Linked DNA regions of Homo sapiens: region 1 is linked to region 2. The links are contacts of gene promoters, found by promoter capture Hi-C in blood cells and fetal thymus (Javierre and others, 2016). All regions are on one chromosome and are shown on one strand. The core of a region is centred on a gene start or on the middle of the fragment in contact, and the rest is flanking DNA. Distances in the headings are between cores, read along the strand shown.

Evidence for each region. Contacts are between HindIII fragments. The CHiCAGO score rates a contact against its expected background, and 5 or more counts as called.
Region 1: a fragment that was not itself captured here is called in contact with the fragment with the promoter of CRACDL in region 2 in 1 of 17 cell types (total CD8 T cells); the score reaches 5.1 in total CD8 T cells.

Annotation. Positions count from the first base shown.
Region 1 is chr2:98,398,552-98,402,709 of GRCh38, reverse strand. CNGA3 (cyclic nucleotide gated channel subunit alpha 3) reads right to left here. Exons shown (of 8, transcript NM_001298.3): 8 at 4,109-4,158. Among named protein-coding and RNA genes, the nearest start is that of INPP4A, 44 kb to the left of the region's middle. The HindIII fragment of the contact is 200 bases long and covers 1,386-1,585 here.
Region 2 is chr2:98,934,376-98,937,952 of GRCh38, reverse strand. CRACDL (CRACD like) reads left to right here and starts at 1,728. Exons shown (of 10, transcript NM_207362.3): 1 at 1,728-2,015. RefSeq lists a silencer at 2,361-2,561. The HindIII fragment of the contact is 4,194 bases long and covers 1-2,564 here.

The DNA of each region.
Region 1 (4,158 bases), core at 236-2,735, 540 kb after region 2:
TCTTCAATATCTAGTTCAAGCTAATTTTTATTTCAGGAACTTTTCTTAAATGATAAGTTTTAGTGTTGTGCTCTATTCCTGTGCTTTGGTACTTGTTTGGGATTCTTATTAACATGCTAGATCTTTGTTGTTTATTCTCCATCACTTTTCTCACAAATTCTTTTTATCTTTTTCATTTCTTTTTGATTAAAAAAAAGCATTTTGGGAGCAGTTTTAGGTTCACAGCAAAATTCCCATATACCTGCAACATACTTCATATTTTTGAAAGTGGTATCAAAGGTGCATTTGCTGTGACAGATGAACCTACACTGACAATTTTTCTCTTGAAGTCCATAGTTTACATTGGTGTCCACTCTTGGTGTTGAACATTCTGTGGGTTTTCACAAAGGTATAACAACATGTATTTACCACTACAGTATCATACAGAGTATTTTCAGTGCCCTGAAACTCTCTGCACTCCACCTGTTTATGCTTCTACTCCCCCAACCCCTGGCAAACACTAATTTTTTTTTTTTACTTTTGCCACAATTTTGTCCTTTCCCAAATGTCATATTCGGAATATCTTTTTTGATTTTTAAGACATTTTTCCTTTCCATCTTTGATTTCTCTTAAAACATTGCTTACTATGTTTATTTGCTCTTGTGTTCCTTTTAATTCAGTTTTTAAAATTTTTTTTGTTCTTTTATTTCTAGTACTTTTCTGAGTTCTGTTACAGCTCTTGTCAAATCTTCCTTTTCCTCAATCACCTCATCCTTGATTCTGGTTTATGCTGTTTTTTTTTTAATAGCATCTATCATTCTCTTAATTTCTCTTGGCTGGTTTTGAAATGATGAGTCAGTTTACATCCGTTCTGTGGGCATGTCTTTCTGGTGGGTTTCATTATCTGCAGAGATGTTATACTCCATCTGATTCTTCCTCGCTGTCTTTTTAATAAAGACTTTGCATGAAATTTGAGGGTGCATCTTTTCTGTTGTTCGTCTTCTAAGTGAGTTGAATGTGCTTATACTTTAGAGAGAAGAGATGGAGCATGATTTACTTTTTTCTAACTTCATAGTTCTCTAATTCTCTCTTCGGCTGTTTTCTCAAAGTGATAAAAATATATATGAAGTAGTGCTACCTCCTCTGCTTCTCTACCCTCTTTTATCTAAACTTTTTCTTTCCTTTGTCACTACTGTTTCTGTCCTGTGATCAATTTGGATTTTACTCCAAATTGTCTCTCAGTGAGGGGTTTTGTCTTAGAAGGAAGCTTCTTTCATACTAGAAGAAAACATAGGGTAAATCCTCCATGACATTGATCTGGGAAATTATTTTTAAAGATGTGAACCCAAAAACACAGACCACAAAAGCAAAAATAGACAAATAGGATTACATTAAACTAAAAAGCTTCTGCACAGCCAAGGAAACAAACAAGAGTGAAGAGACAACCTACAGAATGAGAGAAAATATTTGCAAACCATACATTGATGAGGGTTAATATCTAAAATATATAAGGAACTCAAACAACTCAATAGCAAGCAAACAAATAACCCAATGTAAAAATGGGCAAAGGATCTGAATAGATGTTTCTCAAATAAAGAAAGAAGCTTTATTCTGTGAACATCCAGAGTGTGCAGCACCGAGAGTGTCCCTGCACATCAATCTTGCAGCATCATTGTCAATTTGCTGTCACCCACAAATTGATCCCTGCAGAATCTCCCTTAATTCCAGCTGTTCTCAGACAGGCTCTCCATGCTTTTTAGTGAGCACCTGTTGGTGATTTGGGTGTTTTCATATCCTCAGGGATGTCAGATGTTGTCTGTGGATCTTTAGATTTGTTATCTTATTTGCTGTGTTTTATGTGAGGACTTAGAGAGCCCAACAAACTACACTGCCACCACCACCATTTTTCCAGAATCTCAAAAATCTTAATGAAGTTTCTACCATAATAATAATACATATTCTTTAATTGTTACATTGCCTTCCTCTCTCTGATCTTCCTGCCTCCCACTTATCAGAATCCTTGTGATTATATCAGGTCCCCTTGGAAAATCCAGGATAACTTTCCCACCTCAACCTCCTTACTGTAATCCCATTCACATGACCAGTTGATATTGACATTATGTTCCCCCATGGCAGTGTAGAGGCTGCTGGATCCTTGGCTCCAGTTCTGAGTGCAAGATCCATCAATAAGGCTTTACATCCTGGGGTGGAAAGTATCAAATAATCTACATATATGATCTGGAATCCTTCTGTAAAAAATATGTGTCCTTTCTCCCTCATTAATTTATTTATTCAATCATTCATTTATGGCATAGACTCATGGACTTTTATACTTTGGGATATAGTCTAATACTAAATTTAAAAATTTTGTTTTTCAAATGGCTTCAGTTTTGGCCATTGGGAGCTCTTTCAGGTTGGTTGCTATGTCCCTCTAATTTACTTCCATCATTGTGTGTGTGTGTGTGTGTGTGTGTGTGTGTGTGTGTGTGTGTATGTAGAAAGCCCTATCGCCACTTGCCCCCCAACATTGTGCTTTTTGAGTACTTTCCGGCACTACAAGACACTCCATGCTCATGGTATATTTTCCCCGTCTCAGCCCTAGAATCAGCCCTGGTTCCTTTTATTGGAGAAAGATATTTGGAAACCAAGATCTGGGTGCTTGGTGTGCTCTTTGTAATAGGTATCACTGCCAAGCCTTCTTGGTACACAGAGTTAGAAATATATCTATGTATACCAACATATATATACATACACACACACACACACACACACACACACACCTACAATCATTTCTGCATCTGTCTACCTGGATATATAAATAAACGTGAGTTCATTCTAATGTCTGATTTCAATCCAGTACCACAGGGTTCATTCTGATCTTGTGTGGTCTTATTTGTAACTTCTTTTTCTGACTATGATAAATCTGGCTTCCATTTTTTAAAACATTTATTTATTTATTCCCTCATTCATGCATTCATCCATAGTATAATGTAATTCTGAATTAGTAACGCATATCCCCGTGTGAAACAAATTTACAACTAGAGTACAGTATTCATGTCACATCTTTTCATCTTTAGCCTTAGTTTCTACTCAAAGCACCATTTTTAACATTACTTAGGTCATTGTTTTACCCTATGTCCTTCAGTAAAGTTATGTCATATATTTCTAATATAGCTAGATTCATTTGTCACAATCTGCTTTCCATCCTTATATTGCCCACATTCGGGTTGATATTTTAAAATTTCATACATTACAGTTTATTCTTTGTGGTATACAGTTCTGTGAGAGTGAACAATGCACAGTCATATACCCACCACCCCAACACCATGCAAAACAGTTCCATCACACTAAAAATTCCCCCGTGATCTCCTTTGCAATCAGCCTCTACACCTCCTGACAACCCCTGGCAACCGCTGAGCTGTTTTCCACCATTATTGTTTGCCTTTTCCAGAATGTCATACAAATGGAATCTTTTTCCCTTGATCAATTGCTCATTCATTTTCATTCCTGAGTAGTATTTGATTATAGGTGATTGTATAAATATACCACTGTTTTACTTTTTTCTTTATTTCTTTCGTTTTTTTTTTTTTTTTTAGAGACAGGGTCTTGCTATGTTGCCTAGGCTGTCCTCAAACTGTTGGACTCAAATGATTTTCCCTTCTCAGCCTCCTTAGTAGCTGGGATTATAGGCACACGCCACCTCGCCTGACTGTTTATCTATCCATTCACTTATTGAATGATATTATTACTGCTTCCAGATTTTTGTTAATAATGAATAAAGCTGCTACCAACATTTATATACATGTTTTTATGTGCATATAAGTTTCAAATTCTTTTAGGTAAATACCTAGGGTGTGATTGCTGGGTCATATGCTAAAGCATATGCCTAACTTTATAAAAACTACCAAATTGTCTTCCATATTGCATATTGCAATATTGCATGCCCACCAGCAATGAATGAGAGTTCTTGTTGGTTTGTGCCCTTAACAGCACTTGGCTTTGTCACTTTCTTGGAATGTGTGCCGTCCCCCACATCAGCACCTATCCTTTCTAGGGAAGCCATTGCCCTAGAAACATACTCTGGGACTGAAACTTCCTTTATGGCAAGAGCTGAAGCAAGAGTCATTCCTATTTTTAAATCCAGGTCTTTATTTTTCCTGTGCAAATATGAATGCAGGC
Region 2 (3,577 bases), core at 479-2,978:
GTTTTTGTCTTCTGAAAACCTCCAGGAACTTCAAAAGCCACCCACAGAATACAAATAAAGCCAGAGGTTTAAGATATTCTGGAAACGAAATTCTTAGGTAGAAAGGCAGTTTATGGAGTCCATAAATATTTAGTAGTTACAGCGGCAAAAACTAACATGATTTTGAAGAGCAAGGAGCAGAGGCTCAAGGTGGGAGAGGAGAGAGGGGAGTATAGTTTTTGCAGTTGTTCAGTTTAGTTTGAGGATTTTGAAAAAAACAAACACACAGACACCCAACAAACTCGTTGTCTCTGATTGTCATGAGTCACCCATTCATTGTGAATGCAGGTTATTAATTTGGGGGGGGGTTATAAGGCTGAATCACTATTTTTGTTCTTTTTATACAGGGAACTTAAAGCACTTAACCATCAAAAGAGGCTTTTACGTGAATAGCTTGTGGCCAAGGGATAACATTAAAAATTCAAAAAGGAAACTTCGTTTGATATGCCCAAGTAAATGGGAAACTGTCTTGGGCCTCGTTTCGCTCGATTCTTCTATCTGGGATTTTGAGCCCCTTGAAAGCCACAGGTGGAGAGAGCTCCTTCCGGGGTCCAGGCCCTCTCGGCCTCCGACAGCCGAGCAGCTCGGCTTTTCCAGGCCTCCAGTGTGCGCGGCGCTAGCCGTCGGACCCAGCGTCCCGCGGAGTAGCGCGGATTCCGCGTGATCCCCTCCAAACAATGCGGACCTCGCCGCTCATTCTGGCGTCCGGTGACACCCGAGACTCCCCGTCTGACGTTAGTATCATCTCTTCCAGCCTGGGTTGAAGGCGTCCCCTGAGGACTCGTCGCAGCCTGGGCTCCCTGCTGGGACGCGACTCCCGCGCCTCTCGCCTGCCTGGCCCTGGGCGTGCACCGCCGGGGAAGAGGCCGGGACGGGGTCGCCGGGCTGTGCCATCCGCAGACCAAAGCCGCGGCTCGGGCTCCGGAGGAGATTCGCTGGGCGACCACCCAAGGCAGCTCCCTCCGTGCGCGGTCTCCCTAAATGGACCAGCCCTGTCTTTACAAGAAAAAGGATTTTAAAAAAAGAAGAAAGAAAGAAAATAAAGAAAGGCGAGCGCAGCTGAGACGGCATCAGCTGCCTTTCTTCCCACACTCGCCGGTGTCACACCCATGAATCACCTCCAGACGGGGCGGCAGCTTCCCTAATTAGCCTGGAGACGCTCAGGACCCACAGGGTTATAAAACAACAACAATAACAAACTTTTACTTTTATTCAAATGCACACTTCCTTCCCTCGGCGCCCACGCCCGCCGCAGGCCACTGACTTAGAGGGCGGATCCGGAGGTCACCTGGAGTCCCGGGTCCCTCTCACCGACGCGCGCGGGTGCCCTGGGCCAGTCCCGGACTGACTTGCCACCACCTCCGGGTCTCCGGTGCCCCCCGGCCCTCCCGGAGCCCCGACAGCGCCGCTGCGCGGACAGGCCGAGGCGGGTCGGGAGCGGCGCGGGCTTGGGAGGGAGCGCTGGGCAGCCGGGCCCGCACCCCGATTGCCCTCCCCGCACCCCGATCGCCCTCCCGCCTCCCGCGGGGCGTCCAAGGCCCAGGCCGGCGCCTGCGCCCCCCGCCCCGAGGTCTCGGCCCCACTCCGCCGGGCCAGCTGCGGAGGCGGCGTTGGGAGCTGTGCGCCGCGGGGGAGGTGCGCGCGGCGGCCGGCGAGGGGAGCTGAGCGGCGTCCGCCCCCGCCGAGCCGAGCGGAGCCGAGCGAAGCCGGCGCGCCTGCAGCTGGGAGCTGGGAGCTGGGAGCGCGCCGGGCGCAGGGCCGGGCCGGCCGCGGGAGGGTAGTGTCAGCGCCCGCGTCCAGCTCTTCGGCCGCAGACCCGGGCTGTCTGGAGGCCGCGCGGCCACCTGCTGCGTCGCCCCGGCTTTGGGCTGGGGCTAGACGCGCACCGCGGCGGGAGCAGCCCCGGCTCGCCGCACCCCGCGGAAGGTGCCCTTCTCTGCGCGTCTCGCCGAGCCCGGGCCACGCTCCTGTCCCAGGTACCTCGAGGGGTTTGAAATCGCGTGTCCCAAGGCAGGCGTGGGTCGAAGGCGGGGTGGGCGCGGGGGCACCGGGCGGAGGTGGGGCGGGCCGGGGCTAGGGGGTCGAGGGCAGAGGCCGTGAAGCCAGGGGCCCCTCGGACCCGGAGAGGCGCCACCCCCGCCGCCGAAGCCCTGGGCAGCTCCTGCGGCCGAGGGGGAGCCGGACGCGCTCGTGCAAGTGCCCAAAGTTTCCCTTTGCTCACTTTGCTGGACCCAACTTTCCACTGTGAGGCAAATCCAGCAGTTTACGCGCCAGGAAAATGAAAGAGGAGGGAGAGAAGGTCCTGCTCGGTTGAAATTGCTAGCATACGAGGTCTTTATGCCCACTGTCTCCACACGCAGTTGCAGGGGAAAGGAGTGGACACATTCACGAACTGCCTTATGCTTTAGGTGATGGTTTATTTAACAGGTTTTAGGCTTTGATTACACGCCACCCGGGAGGGATTCTGGAGTTGATCTAAGAAGTGTTCACATTTTTAATCAACAAATATTTGTTGAACAGAAGCTTCATCATAGGCAAAGATTCGGTATGAAGTTCACATGTGATCAGAGCATAATAGTCACTTGCTTTTGAAATGCAAGTCAGAAGCAGTGCGGCTGTGTGAATTTGACTCCGTGTAGGTGCAAACCGCCTGCAGGCATCAGGTCCTGTTGACAGTTTTGAGCCAGGAAATCCAAGTGGAAGACAGGCAGCTGTGTTACCCTTTTAGAGCCAGCTCACACCTTCCCAAACTGGTCTTAAGGTATCCTACTAGGTTATTGGAGCCTGCAGGCTTCCTTCATTTGCATATACCATAGACTAGAATCTGTGTAGACCCCTGGTATTTTCCCTGGAGCTCGGTCCCACGGGCGCACACCTGGAATGATGGAGCACTGTGGTCATCCTAAGAACCTATTGAGGTTATAAAATTGTGAGGAGAAAGATATCTAGAGACAGTGTCGTGTGGAGCTGGTGGAGAAGGTTGAGCTGGGCTGGTTTCTGGGCTCTGCCCCTATGCTGTGCCATCTTGGAGTCTGAGGCAACAGGAAAAATCAGGAACACTGATCCTGTCTTTATTTAAAAATGTGAGATTTTGTACATTAGGGATTTTTGTATTTGTTTTGATGTTTTAAAATATTGTAATAAGGCATTTATCTGACTGCATTTTTGGTACCCCCTTAAATTTTGTGCCTGTAGTGAGTACCTGGCTTGCCTGAGTCTGATTCTGGACCTCCTCCACGAGTCAAGTTCTTACTCTCTAAGCATCTGTTTCCTCACTTATAAAATAAAGTGTACCATCCATGGATGCTGCGCAGCTCAGCTGCTGCATAGGATGCGTCATGTGGGGCTCACTAACGGGTGGCTGTCCTGCTGAGATCACTGCTCTGCTTGGCCCTCTTAGGCTAGTTAAGATGAATCTTGGCTGGGCGCGATGGCTCACACTTGTAATCCCAGCACTTTGGGAGGCCGAGGCAGGTGGATTGCCTGAGGTCAGGAGTTCGTGACCAGTCTGGCCAACGTGGTGAAGCCCTGACTCTAC